Linked DNA regions of Homo sapiens: all the other regions are linked to region 3. The links are contacts of gene promoters, found by promoter capture Hi-C in human tissues and cell types (Jung and others, 2019). All regions are on one chromosome and are shown on one strand. The core of a region is centred on a gene start or on the middle of the fragment in contact, and the rest is flanking DNA. Distances in the headings are between cores, read along the strand shown.

What was found. The method cuts DNA at HindIII sites, captures the fragments that hold promoters and counts their contacts. A contact is called where the count stands out against the background at its distance.
Region 1: a fragment that was not itself captured here is called in contact with the fragment with the promoter of CHP2 in region 3 in 2 of the 25 tissues and cell types used here (mesenchymal stem cells and spleen).
Region 2: a contact is called between a fragment that was not itself captured here and the fragment with the promoter of CHP2 in region 3, in 2 of the 25 tissues and cell types used here (dorsolateral prefrontal cortex and lymphoblastoid cells).

The regions. Positions count from the first base shown.
Region 1 is chr16:24,366,668-24,371,007 of GRCh38, forward strand. No RefSeq gene overlaps it. Among named protein-coding and RNA genes, the nearest start is that of CACNG3, 110 kb to the left of the region's middle. The HindIII fragment of the contact is 3,061 bases long and covers 1-2,986 here.
Region 2 is chr16:24,275,955-24,279,948 of GRCh38, forward strand. The region is part of intron 1 of CACNG3 (calcium voltage-gated channel auxiliary subunit gamma 3); the gene reads left to right. Among named protein-coding and RNA genes, the nearest start is that of CACNG3, 22 kb to the left of the region's middle. The HindIII fragment of the contact is 9,849 bases long and covers 1-3,994 here.
Region 3 is chr16:23,753,003-23,757,069 of GRCh38, forward strand. CHP2 (calcineurin like EF-hand protein 2) reads left to right here and starts at 2,024. Exons shown (of 7, transcript NM_022097.4): 1 at 2,024-2,114; 2 at 2,659-2,731; 3 at 2,845-2,925; 4 at 3,061-3,191; 5 at 3,386-3,447. The coding sequence starts at 2,048. RefSeq lists an enhancer at 1,912-2,557. The HindIII fragment of the contact is 8,876 bases long and covers 1-4,033 here.

The DNA of each region.
Region 1 (4,340 bases), core at 206-2,705, 610 kb after region 3:
GTCCACACTATACCCTGGGCTAGCTCAGGCTTTCTCCCGATTCTCTGCCTTTGCTGATAAAGGTTATCCCTACCTGAAATGTTTCCGCTTGCCCTCTCCAAATCCTATCCATCCTTCAAGGCCAAGGTCAAGCCTCATGCTTTCCATGAAGTCTTTTTTTTTTTTTTTTTGAGATAGAGTCTCACTCTGTTGCCCAGGCTGGAATGTGGCGGCACAATCTCAGCTCACTGCAACCTCCGCCTCCCAGGTTCAAGCAATTCCCATGCCTTACTCACCCAAGTAGCTGGGATTACAGGTGTACACTAAAACTCCCGGCTAATTTTTGTATTTTATTAGGGATGGGGTTTTGCCATGTTGGCTGGTCTCAAACTCCTGACCTCAAGTGATCTGCCCACCTCGGCCTTCCAAAGTATTGGGATTACAGGCATGACCCATTGCACCCAGCACCATGAAGTCTTTTGTGGCTCCTCGGGCCACACAATCTCTCACTTCTGCGCATTCATCCATTTATTCATTCATTTATTTATTCAGCACTTATCATTCAGCACTTATTGTGCGCTGGTGCTATCGTTTGGATGTTTGACCCCCTTCAAACCTCATGTTGAAATTTGATCCCCAATGCTGAAAGTGGAGCCTGATGAGAGGCAGATGGGTCAGAGAGGTGGATCCCTCATGAGTAGATTAATGCCCTCCCTTGGGAATGAGCGGATTCTTACTGTATTAGTTCACATGAGCTGGTTGTTTAAAACAGCCTGACACCTCCCCTCTGTCTCTCTCTTGCTTCCTCTCTTGCCATGTAATCTCTGCATATGCCGGCTCCCCTTGCCTTCTGCTGTGAGTAAAAGCTTCCTGAGCCCTCACCAGAACAGATGCTGGCACCATGTTTCTTGTACAGCCTGCAGAACCGTGAGCCAAATAAACCTCTGTTATATATAAATTACCCAGCCTCAGAGATTCCTTCACAGCAACACAAAACAGACTAAGACAGCCAGAAGGAGTAATAATCCCAAAAGATATGACCACTGTCCTCATGGAAGTCTCAGTCTAGTGGAGGAGACAAGCACTGAACAAATGAACATACACATCAACATCATTCAAAATTGTGATCTATGTCATGAAGGGAAAACGTAATGCAAAAAATACAAATATAAATGGGAATCTCTGGCTAGGTGCGGTGGCTCACACCTGTAATCCCAGCACTTTGGGAGGCCGAGGTGGGTGGATCACTTGAGGTCAGGAGTACGAGACCAGCCTGGCCAACATGGTGAAAATTCACCTCTACTGAAAATACAAAAATTAGCCGGATGTGGTGGCACACGCCTGTAATCTCAGCTACTCAGGAGGCTGAGGCAGGAGAATCACTTGAACCTGGGAGGCGGAGGTTGCAGTGAGCCGAGATCAAGCCACTGCCCTCCAGCCTGGGCGACACAGCCAGACGGTATCTCAAAAAATAAAATAAAATAACATAATAAATAAATAAACAGGGACCTCTAATTTAGCTGGTGGAGGGGAGATCAAAGAAGAGGAAATGACATTTAGGATCAGAGCAAAAGCAAGATTGGGAGTTATTCGAGGAAAGGGAATAAATAAAGTGTCTAGGGGAAAAAAACCAGCATGTGCAATGTCCTGAGACTGGAGAGACCAAAAACAAACAAACAAACAAAAAACAACCAACCAAGCAAACAACAACAGCAAAACAGGCCAGTAAGGTGTAGGAAGAGTAGCACTGATGAGAACAGGAAAGAAAGCTGGGTCCAGAGGATGCAGCATTAAGGGCATGCTAAGGATGTTGAGTTTTGACCCTAAGTGCATTTAGAAGCCATTTGACAGTTTTAATCAGGAATACATTAGACACTACCTAACATGTATTTTCAGAAGTTTAATAAGTTAGGCACCCAGTGAAATGCTAGTTTCCTAGATCTTATCTCTGGAGTATCATTGCCTGCTTTATCTACAGTCCCTGGTAGGAAGGCAGGACCTGTCCTTGGTCACAGCTGATTGGATCAAAGATTGCACCTGATATAAGGCCAGCCAATCCAGTCATAGGATGGCCAGTGGTCTAGGATTTGCAACTAGACTCCAAAAGGTCAGCTGGTCCAATCAGATGATCTCTAAGAGACTTAACTAAGAGACACAAAAGGCAATTACCAGTTGGCTACAAGGAGCAGAACAGAGAGGATATGAGGGACCCATGAGGCTAGGGCTGCAACAGTCAGCCAAATGCAGGTTAAAGTTATACCAAAAAAAACTGCTTGGTAAAGAGAAGACAACTCTGTAAAGGCTTCTCATTGTACGTAAATAAAATTCAAATTTTTGGCCGGGCATGGTGGCTCACGCTTGTAATCCCAGCACTTTGGGAGGCTGAGGCGGGTGGATCACCTGAAGTCAGGAGTTCAAGACCAGCCTGACCAATATGGTGAAACTTCGTCTCTACATAAAATACAAAAAAAAAATTAGCCAGTCATGGTGGTGGGCACCTGTAGTTCCAGCTACCCAAGAGGCTGAAACAGGGGAATTGCTTGAACCTGGGAGGTGGAGGTTGCAGTGAGCCGAGGCCACGCCACTGCACTCCAGCCTGGGTGCAGGGAGACTCCTTCTTCAAAAAAAAAAAAAAAAAAAAACAAAATTTGTCTAGGATCTCCAAGTTCTTGCATTATCAGGAGCATGCTGACCCATTCAACTTTATTCTGTGCCATTAAGTTGGTGCGAAAGTAACTTTATTCTGTGCCATTACTTTCAATGGCAAAAACTGCAATTATTTTTGCGCCAATCTAATACTTCCATCTTGCTACCTGCACTCCAGTCAGGCTGTCCTTTTTTCAGTTCCTTGCTCAAGCCTCAGGGCCTTTGCACCTGCCATTCCTACTGATTGAAATGTCTTCAATCTCTTTACATGGCTGGCCCCTTCTCATCCTTCAGATCTGAGCTGGACAAGTCACTCCTGAGAGAGGACTTTCCTCAACAACTCTCTAAAGTAGATCACCTCTTATTCTTTACTCGAGTTCATCCTTATTCCCTTGAGAGGTCAAAATTTTGTAATATTTTATTTTGTTTTTGTTTATTTATTTTTATAGATTTCTCTACAAGAACACACATTTTGTGAGAGCAAGGTCCTTGACCATATAATCCATGCCTAATATGGAGCCGTTCACGTGGTGGGTCGGAAGGAGAATGCATTAAGAACTGTTTAGAGGAAAGCAGAAACATCTCAAGGGAGAGGAAGGGAGCGGCTTCCTTGTCACTCAGGCTGGAGTGCGGAGATGCGATCACGGCTCACTGTAGCCTCAGCCTCCTGGGCTCAAGTGATCCTCTCACCTCAGCCTCCTGAGTAGCTGGAACTACAGGTGTGCTGCCACACCCAGCTAATTTTTTTTATTTTTTGTAGAGACAGGGTCTCACTGTGTTACCCAGGCTGGTATCAAACTCCTGGGCTCAAGTGATCTTCCCGCATCAGGCCCCCAAAGTGTTGGGATTTACAGGCATGAGCCACCATTCTTGGTCTCTTCTTTGTTTCTAATAGCTTCCCTGTCCCGTCTCCTCAAGGCCCATCTCAATTTGAGTTGCCATTCTCAGATCCCTGGGTCACTTTTTCTGCATTCCTTCAACAATCCTCCCTTTTCTTGAGCCAGCCTGAGTGGGCTACCAAATAAACACTAACCAGAAGCTGTGTCTCTAGAACAGAGGAACACTCGGTTACAGGTGTACAGCTGAGAGTCCCTTGTAGAGACAGAACAGCCATGCCAGAATGGTATTTAGTCAGGATGTTTGTTGAAGAGAGATCAGAACCTCAAAGCAAGTTCAGTTCAGAAACAGCCAAGACTGAGAGAGAACCAGTAACCAGAAAAAAAGTGGCCAGGTCTGAGGGTTTAGTAAAGCATCAGTCTAAGAAGACATCATAAAGGCAATGGCAAGGCCAAGTCACCAAGTTGAAAGCAAGAATCCCTGGATATTATATAAAATTCATGGTATGTTGATAGCTTTATTTTTGTAAATAATAAACAAGTCAAACAAACAAAAAACCAGTTTTGAGATGGTAATCTCGACTTACGGGTCCTTGTCTAATGCTTTAGGTAAGATGCTTTTGGCTGCAAGTAACACCTAACTCCAACTTAACTAGCTTGTATTAATCAGGTAGACTAGGCCATCTGTCATAACAAAATAAATCCTAAAATCTCAAGTACTTAACAGAAGAAAACTTTATTTCTTACTAAAGACTACTGCAGGCACTCCTGGCTGAGTAACACTCCTAGATGGCTCTACTCCACACAGTGACTCAGGGACCCAAGCTGCTTCTGTCTTGTAGTTCTACCATATTGTGGCTTCAGGGCTATCCTGGTGTC
Region 2 (3,994 bases), core at 772-3,271, 520 kb after region 3:
ATTCCACATTGCAACTAGCCTTTAAGGAACTACCACTTGTCGAGTTTTGGTGTAGTATCAAAGAATATTCACAGTTATTTCAAAAGCTATTCAAATACTGCTCTATTTGTCAAACTTGTGTGAGGCTAGGTTTTCTTCATAAACTTCAAGTCTAACAACAGTGGGCAACAGATCAAATGCAAAAGCAGATATAAGAATCTATCTCTCTTCTCTTGAGCCAGACATTAAAGAGATTTTCAAAAGCGTAAAAACAATTCTTCTCACTATTTTTTGTTCTGGAAAATATAGTTATTTTTATACAAATATTTATGTTAACATGCAATTGAATTTATCATTATTTTCAAATGAATTTTAAAATAACTATTTCACTATTTTAGGGGGGTTTTAATTTCTGATATAGGAAATATTAAATAGATACAACCCACATAAACAAAAGTTCAATAATTTGCAAAAGTGTAAAGGAGTCCTAAGACCAAAAAATTTGAGAGCCTCTGCTACAGCTGTATTTTAATTCTGTTGACTAACTTCATATAGTTGAGGAGAGAAACTAAAAGAGCTATTTCCATACTTTCATCAGAAGATTTCCTTCTAGTTCTGTCTTTTCTTCTCCAGTGGGAAATGAAACAGTCCCTTGGTGGGTTCTGGTATCTTTTTGACTTCTCTTTAGTTGCAGCTAAGCTAAGTCATTGTTCCACCATCACTGGGATGGAAGAGGCAACATGAGATTTCAGCAGGCACTGAAAAAGGTGTCTTTGATTAAAATGCAACCCTGCTGATATAAAGTTGGACAGAGCCTGGAGGATTCATAGCATCTTGTGTCTTTGTTCATGAAAACTGACAAAGCTTAGCCACCACTCCACAAAAAGTTGAGATCTGTGGTGATATTCTTCATATGTGAGATGAAGCAAAGTGCAAAAAAACTGAGATTTTTGACCAAGTTTTTGGTGGATTGGAATTTAAATGTATAAATTTTCCACCTTCTAACCTATAATTAAAGACACTGTGGGTGAGGATGGAGAATTTGGGAAATGGAAGGGTCTAGTGGGCAATCACTGAACAAACATTTATCTTGGCCAGTGCCAGGGCTTGGTTCTTGGAAATGGAGAAATGGGCACTTGAAGGGAGGCTGGATTATGTGGCCACGAATGTTTTTGTTTGTTGTTTGGCCAACCTCACATCCATTCCTCCTTTTTCTGGTCAAAGGAGGGGTTGCCATGTCACCCTGTCCTCAGTCCATGTGGTTTGGGTGGAACTGACTCCAGCCTAGCAGGACCAGCATATGACCTAGGAATGACCTTGAGGATTATCATTCGGCATCTGGAGTTTATACTAAGGCAGTAGCTCTCGACAGGAACATTTGGTAATGTCTGAGACACTTTTGGTTGGGGGATCAGGGAAGCACAACCAGATCTAGCAGGTGATATCAGGGACGCCGCTAAACCCCTTGCAATGCGCAGGACAGCCCCTACAACACAGCATTACCCAGTCCCTAATGTCAGGAGTACCGAGGTTGAGAATCCTGATCAAAAGGTAAAGGGAGCTGAGTGCGGTGGCTTACACCCGTGATCCCAGCACTTTGGGAGGCCGAGGTGCGCGGATCACTTGAGGTCAGGAGTTCGAGACCAGGCTGGCCGAAATGGTGAAACCCCGTCTCTACCAAAAATACAAAAATTGGCCAGGTGTAGTGGCACATGCCTGTAGTCCCAGCTACTCTACTCAGGAGGCTGAGGCAGGAGAATCGCTTGAACCCAGGATGCGGAGGTTACAGTGAGCAGAGATTGCACCACTGCACTCCAGTCTGGGTGACAGAGCAAGACTCCATCTCAAAAAAAAAAAAAAAAAAGTAAAGGGAAGCCATGAAAGAGTTTTAAGCAGAAGAGCAATAGGATCTAAATTGATGTATGTATGGTATTTGTTTGTTGTTGTTTACTTTTTATAAAATAGAGATGGAGATCTTACTATGTTGCCCAGGCTGGTCTCCAACTCCTTGGCTCAAGTGATCCTTCTGCCTTGGACTCCCAAAGTGCTGGGATTACAGACATGAGCCACAGCACCTAGCTAACTGATGACTTTAAACTGTGGTCAGGTCCCAGGTAGAAACAGATTTTTGAGACGTAAGAAGGGAGCAGGAGATAAGCCAGTGGGCTATTGCAATAACTTTAGAGAGAGAAGACCCTTGGAGTATGGAAGGTAGTATGATGTGGAAGGAGGTATGATCTGGGAAATGCACATTTGGAAATCATCAGTGGTAAAAGGCAGAATCTTGAATGTGAATAAGAGCTTCCAATAAGACTGTAAAAAATAAGAAAATAGGACCAAAGACAGAGCCTTGGGGGAACATCCATGCATAACAAGTAAAATAATAATAATATCTAACACTGGGCAGGGCACAGTGACTCACACCCGTAATCCCTGCATTCTGGGAGGCTAAGACAGGTGGATTACAAGGTCAAGAGATTGAGACCATCCTGGCCAACATGGTGAAATCCCATCTCTACTGAAAATACAAAAATTAGCTGGGTGTGGTGGCACATGCCTGTAGTCCCAGCTACTTGGGAGGCTGAGGCAGGAGAATTGCTTGAACCTGGGAGGTGGAGGTTGCAGTGAGCCGAGATTGCACCACTGCACTCCAGCCTGGCGACAGAGGGAGACTCTGTCTAAAAATAATAATAAATAAATAAATAAATAAAATCTAACACTGTTTGAGAGTTTATGTGCCAGCTTCTATGCTAAATAACTTACACGATTACATCTGACCCTTTTTAACAACCCTTCATATCTCCATTTCACAGATTAAAAACCTTAGGCACAGAGAGGTTAAGTAACTGGCCCAAGGTCACACATGGAGCTATTATCTGAGACAGGATTTGAACTCAAATGATATAACTCCATGGCTTTCCTTCTTATCTACCAAGCTGACTCCTTGAATGGAGAAAAATCTTCCAAAAGGAAAATTACCTCTTAAGAGCTGAAAGATGAGCAAAAGTTAGAGAGATGAAGGGATGGGTTGTTGTCCCGGGAAAAGGGAACAGCAAATACCAAGGTCTGGAGGCTAGATGGAGCATAAAGAGAGCCTAGGACAGAAGCCAAAACATACAGTAATGGCTGGAGCAGGAGTGGGCTGAGTGGGGAGAATGGCAAGACTGGAGAAGTAGACAGGGGCCGTGTCATGCAGATCTTTGGGAGGCACGTTAAGTAAGACTTTATTCTAGGGGAAACAGAAATTCTTTGGAAAGATTAAAATAGAAAATTAAAGATCTGACGTAATCAGGTTTTCATTTTTGAGGCTCATTCTGGCGGAAGTGTGGGACATGGACTGGGGAATGGAAAAGGAATAGTTTTATTTTTATTTTTCTTGAGACAGGGTCTCACTCTGTTGGCCGGGCTGGAGTGCAGTGGTGCAATCTCGGCTTACTGCAGCCTTGACTTCCTGGGCTTAGGTGATCCTCCCACCTCAGCCTCCTGAGTAGCTGGGACTACAGAGGTGCACCGCTACACCTGGCTAATTTTGTTTATTATTATTATTATTTTGTAGAGAGAGTATCTCACTATGCTGCCTAGGCTAGTCTTGAACTCCTGGGCTCAAGCAATCCTCCTGCCTCAGCCTCCCAGAGTGCTGGAACTACAAGGGTGACCCAGTTCGCCCAACTGAGGAATATTTGCAGACTGGTTAAGAGACATTAATGCAATAATCCCATAGCAATAATAGAATCCTATATAAGGGAGATGGACTCATTGGCCATCACTTTGGTAGATGCTTGAAAGCTGGAATCAACTTAATTTCCTGACTGTTGCATGTAAAGGTAAGAGAGAATGAGCTCAAGGCACATCTAGGTTTCTGCCTTTAACCTTTGGATGGACAGTGATCCCCTTTAGGATGAAAAGTTTAGTGATGGGGAGAGGGTGAGTCTGGTTTTAAAAGTGTTGAGTTTGCAGCTTCCTTTGTAACACTCAAGTGGAGGTGTTAAAAGGGCCGCTGAATGCACTGCCCAAG
Region 3 (4,067 bases), core at 774-3,273:
CATGTTTTCCCCCCTGGGAAATTTGTGTATGTATGTGCAATTATGATGGGGGAAACGGTTTAAAGATACTTTCAAAAGTGGACACTTCTAGTGTTTGTCCCTTGACAAATGAGTTTCTCGACCTGTTTTTTTTTCATTATCAACGCCTCCCCTAGTCTTTTTAATTTCCCCACCCTCACCCCTACCCCATGAAATTTTATTTTCTTTCTTTTTTTTTTTTTGAGACCAAGTTTCGATCTTTTTGCCCAAGATGGTGTGCAATGGCGCGATCTAGGCTCACCTCAATCTCCACCTCCCGGGTTCAAGCGATTCTCCTGCCTCAGCCTCCCGAGTAGCTGGAATTACAGGCATGCACCACCACGCCCAGCTAATTTTGTATTTTTAGTAGAGACTGGGTTTCTCCATGTTGGTCAGTCTGGTCTCAAACTCCTGACCTCAGGTGATCCGCCCGTCTCGACCTCCCAAAGTGCTGGGATTACAGGCATAAGCCACCGCGCCCGGCCTCTTTTCTTTTCAAGACAGGGTCTCACTCTGTCACCCAGGCTGGAGTGTAATGGCGTGATCATGGCTCCCTGCAGCCTCAACCTCCTGGGCTCAAGTGATCCTCCTGTCTCAGACTCCCAAGTAGCTGAGACTACAGGCATGTGCCACGACACCTGGTTAATTTTTTTTTTTTGTATTCTTTTGTAGAGATGGGGTCTCACTATGTTGCCTAGGCTGGTCTTGAGCTCCTGGGCTCAAGCAATCCTCCTGCCTCTACCTCCCAAAGTGCTGGGATTACAGGCATGAGCCTCCACGTCTGCCCTGAAATTTCAATATCACAGCTATACTGTATATCTATTTATGTGCTGTATGTATGCTGTGCTTTGTACATAAAAAATATGTTTTATTTTTTGCCCCGTTGGGGTGAGATAGAGACCGCACTGAGAATGCACGCTTTACATAATTAGTTCACAACTTGCCCCCGGCAGCCTCCACCACGTAAAATTAGAAGAAAGCAGCCCAGCAGGGCCTACAAGGAATGTGTGAACGGATGCACGTAAAGTGCTTAGCAAAGCGTGGTAAACAAGAGCCCTTGTTGTCATTCTTGCTTTAAGCCTAGTCCCAGTGATGTCTGTAACCCTCTCTTGGGCCAAGGAGTCCCATGGCTCTGGAGGGCTGTTCAGAGGACTAAGTCATTCCCAGTCTGGAGCTCTACGGGATCAGTAGGTACCTAAGGGAGTGAATTGGGCTTGGAGGGACTGTGGCCAGAAGACAGCTCTGGGCCTGGTGGTGATAGAACTTCTGATTTCTCAGGAAAAGCCAAGAATGTGGATTTTGGGTTAAATCTCCTGAATTTTAAGCATTGGCTCAATTAAACAACAATAAGGCAATGTGAACCGAACAAAAGGGATGAAACCAAGATTTACTGACTTTCCCAGAGTCACGGGCACGGCTGGGATTCCAACAAGGACTCCCAAACCAGTGCTCTTTCCACTTAACCTAACGCACACCCTTCATCTCGCCGCCCCTCCCCACTTCCCCGTCTTTGGGAGTTCTTCGATGCCTCTTCCCCCCTCCCCCCAGGATTCCCTCCCCATAGGCCACCCGCCTTCCAGCAGGGCGTGGTCTCTACAGAGGAGGTCAGGTCTCCCAGGCTTCCTCAGCGTCGACGCCGGGGAGCGCCCTGGGGTTGGGAGCGCCCGGGGCCCGCGAAGGAGGAGGTGGCTCAGGTGTCAGGGCGCACCGTGGGAACCGGCCCCGGGGGAGGCGTGGAAACGCGGGGCCTGGGACTCGACCAGCCTCTCCCGTGCGGATCGCAAAATCTCGGAGCTGAAACAGCCCGTTGTTCGCAGCCTCCCTCTGACCCGCCACCCTGCACATTGTTTTCCATTCGCCCGGGTCGCGGGTGGGAGGAGAGGCACGCCGGGGTTCTGGAGCTTGGCCGCGCGCCAGGCTTGTGGCCTTCGTCCCCCTGGGGCCACTGGGGCGGCCACGCCTCTCCGGCGGGAGGAGAGAACGCGTGGGTCCGGGTGGCTGCTCCGGCCCTTCCGCCTCCAGCTCGGCCATGGGGTCGCGCAGCTCCCACGCCGCGGTCATTCCCGACGGGGACAGTATTCGGCGAGAGACCGGCTGTGAGTGCGCCCGCGTCGGCGGCTGCGGAGGGGACGGGGCGAACCCAGGCGTCTGGGGCTAGGGAAGGGGTTGGGTTGAAGGATGGACGAACTTACAAGTCTGGGGTCCGGGGCTCCCCGGAGCTGGAAGACCAAGGCCCCTGTGCCTGGGATCGCTGGGTTAGGGGCGGGTTAACCTAGGGGTCCCAGCCTCCAAGTCTGGGGAGGATCCGGGTTCACGGGGTCGGAGTCCAGAGGAATCCAGGCACCCAGGTGTCCTCCAGCCCGGCTCGAAGCTGAAGGCAGAGCTGACGGCGGTTGGAAGGGATGGCTTTGGTTCTTTGGTTTTCGGGAGGTTGCGAGCCGCCCGGGTCTTGAACCTGGATCTTCGCGGGGTCGTGTCACTCTCCCTCCGCCCCGGCCAGCTCAACCCCTGATTCCCCGGGATGATCGCCCCTTCCAGCCAGCCCCCGCTGTTCTGGCCCATCTTCCTGGCCTGTTGGGGCGGGTTTCTGGAGCTGGCCCTGCAGAGTCACACACCCCCACCCCACTCTCCTTCCCGCAGTCTCCCAAGCCAGCCTGCTCCGCCTGCACCACCGGTTCCGGGCACTGGACAGGAATAAGAAGGGCTACCTGAGGTGAGGGGGAGCCGGCCTCATAACTTCTGGCCTCTGTCTCTCTGACTCCATGTCCCTCTTTGACCCTCCGTCTGGCATCTCTGCCTTACCCTCTTTGAAATTTGGCTTTGCAGCCGCATGGATCTCCAGCAGATAGGGGCGCTCGCCGTGAACCCCCTGGGAGACCGAATTATAGAAAGCTTCTTCCCCGATGGGTGAGGCTTGCTGGGCGTGGGGAGGTGAAGGCGGGAAAACCGGTGTGTGAGTGGGTGGGAGGGGAGGTTAGAGACGGAGGCAAAGTGATGGCCAAGGTGACCACCACCTCTTTCCATTCTGTCCCGTCTCCCCAGGAGCCAGCGAGTGGATTTCCCAGGCTTTGTCAGGGTCTTGGCTCATTTTCGCCCTGTAGAAGATGAGGACACAGAAACCCAAGACCCCAAGAAACCTGAACCTCTCAACAGCAGAAGGAACAAACTTCACTGTGAGTTTGTGAGGACCTGCACAAGTGAGAATGCAGATGTACCCACACCAGGGACAGGCTCCAGGGATCTCCCACTCCCTTCCTGAGGGCATTGACAACCTCCCCCCTCCTCCAAGGTGGGGGGAAGGAAGGTGGCTGCTGGAAGAGAGCCAGGGAAGACCTACCTTCCTTTCCCCCTCCCACCCTCTCCCCAGATGCATTTCAGCTCTATGACCTGGATCGCGATGGGAAGATCTCCAGGCATGAGATGCTGCAGGTTGGCAGAAAGCGAGAGCAAGAGATGTGATGTGTGAAGGATGGGATGGTTAAATGCAATGGTGTGAGAGATGGGGTGGGATGATTGGGGAACTGGGGCGCAGATAATTGGGGTATTGGTTGGGAAATGGGAATGGGTGCAGTTAGAGTGTGGGTTTGTTGGGAGTCGGAGTGGGGAGCAGTTGACTATGAGGTTGGGAATAGATCAGTGATTCTCAACTGGGGGTGATTTTGCTCCCTGAGTGAATATCTGGCAATATCTGGAGATGCTTTTTGTTGTCACAATGGGGGAGAGAGTGTGCTACTGGCATCTAGTGGGTAGAGGTCAGGAATGTGGCTATATATCATGCAATACCCAGGAGAGCCTCTTCCAACAAGGAGTTACCTGGCTCCAAATGTCAACAGTGCCAAGATTGAGAAACTCTGGAACAGATGTGATGGAATGAGGATGGAATTAGAAACCCTTAGTGGCTAAGGTGGAGAATGGTGTGGAGGATGGATGGAGGTTGGGTGATAAAGTTGGGTAATGAGTTTGAGCATATTTTGAGGGTAGTGCAGGATGGTGAGGGAGAGATAGGAGATTGGTTGTTGAAGCAGTAGGGAAAATTATTGGGGGATATG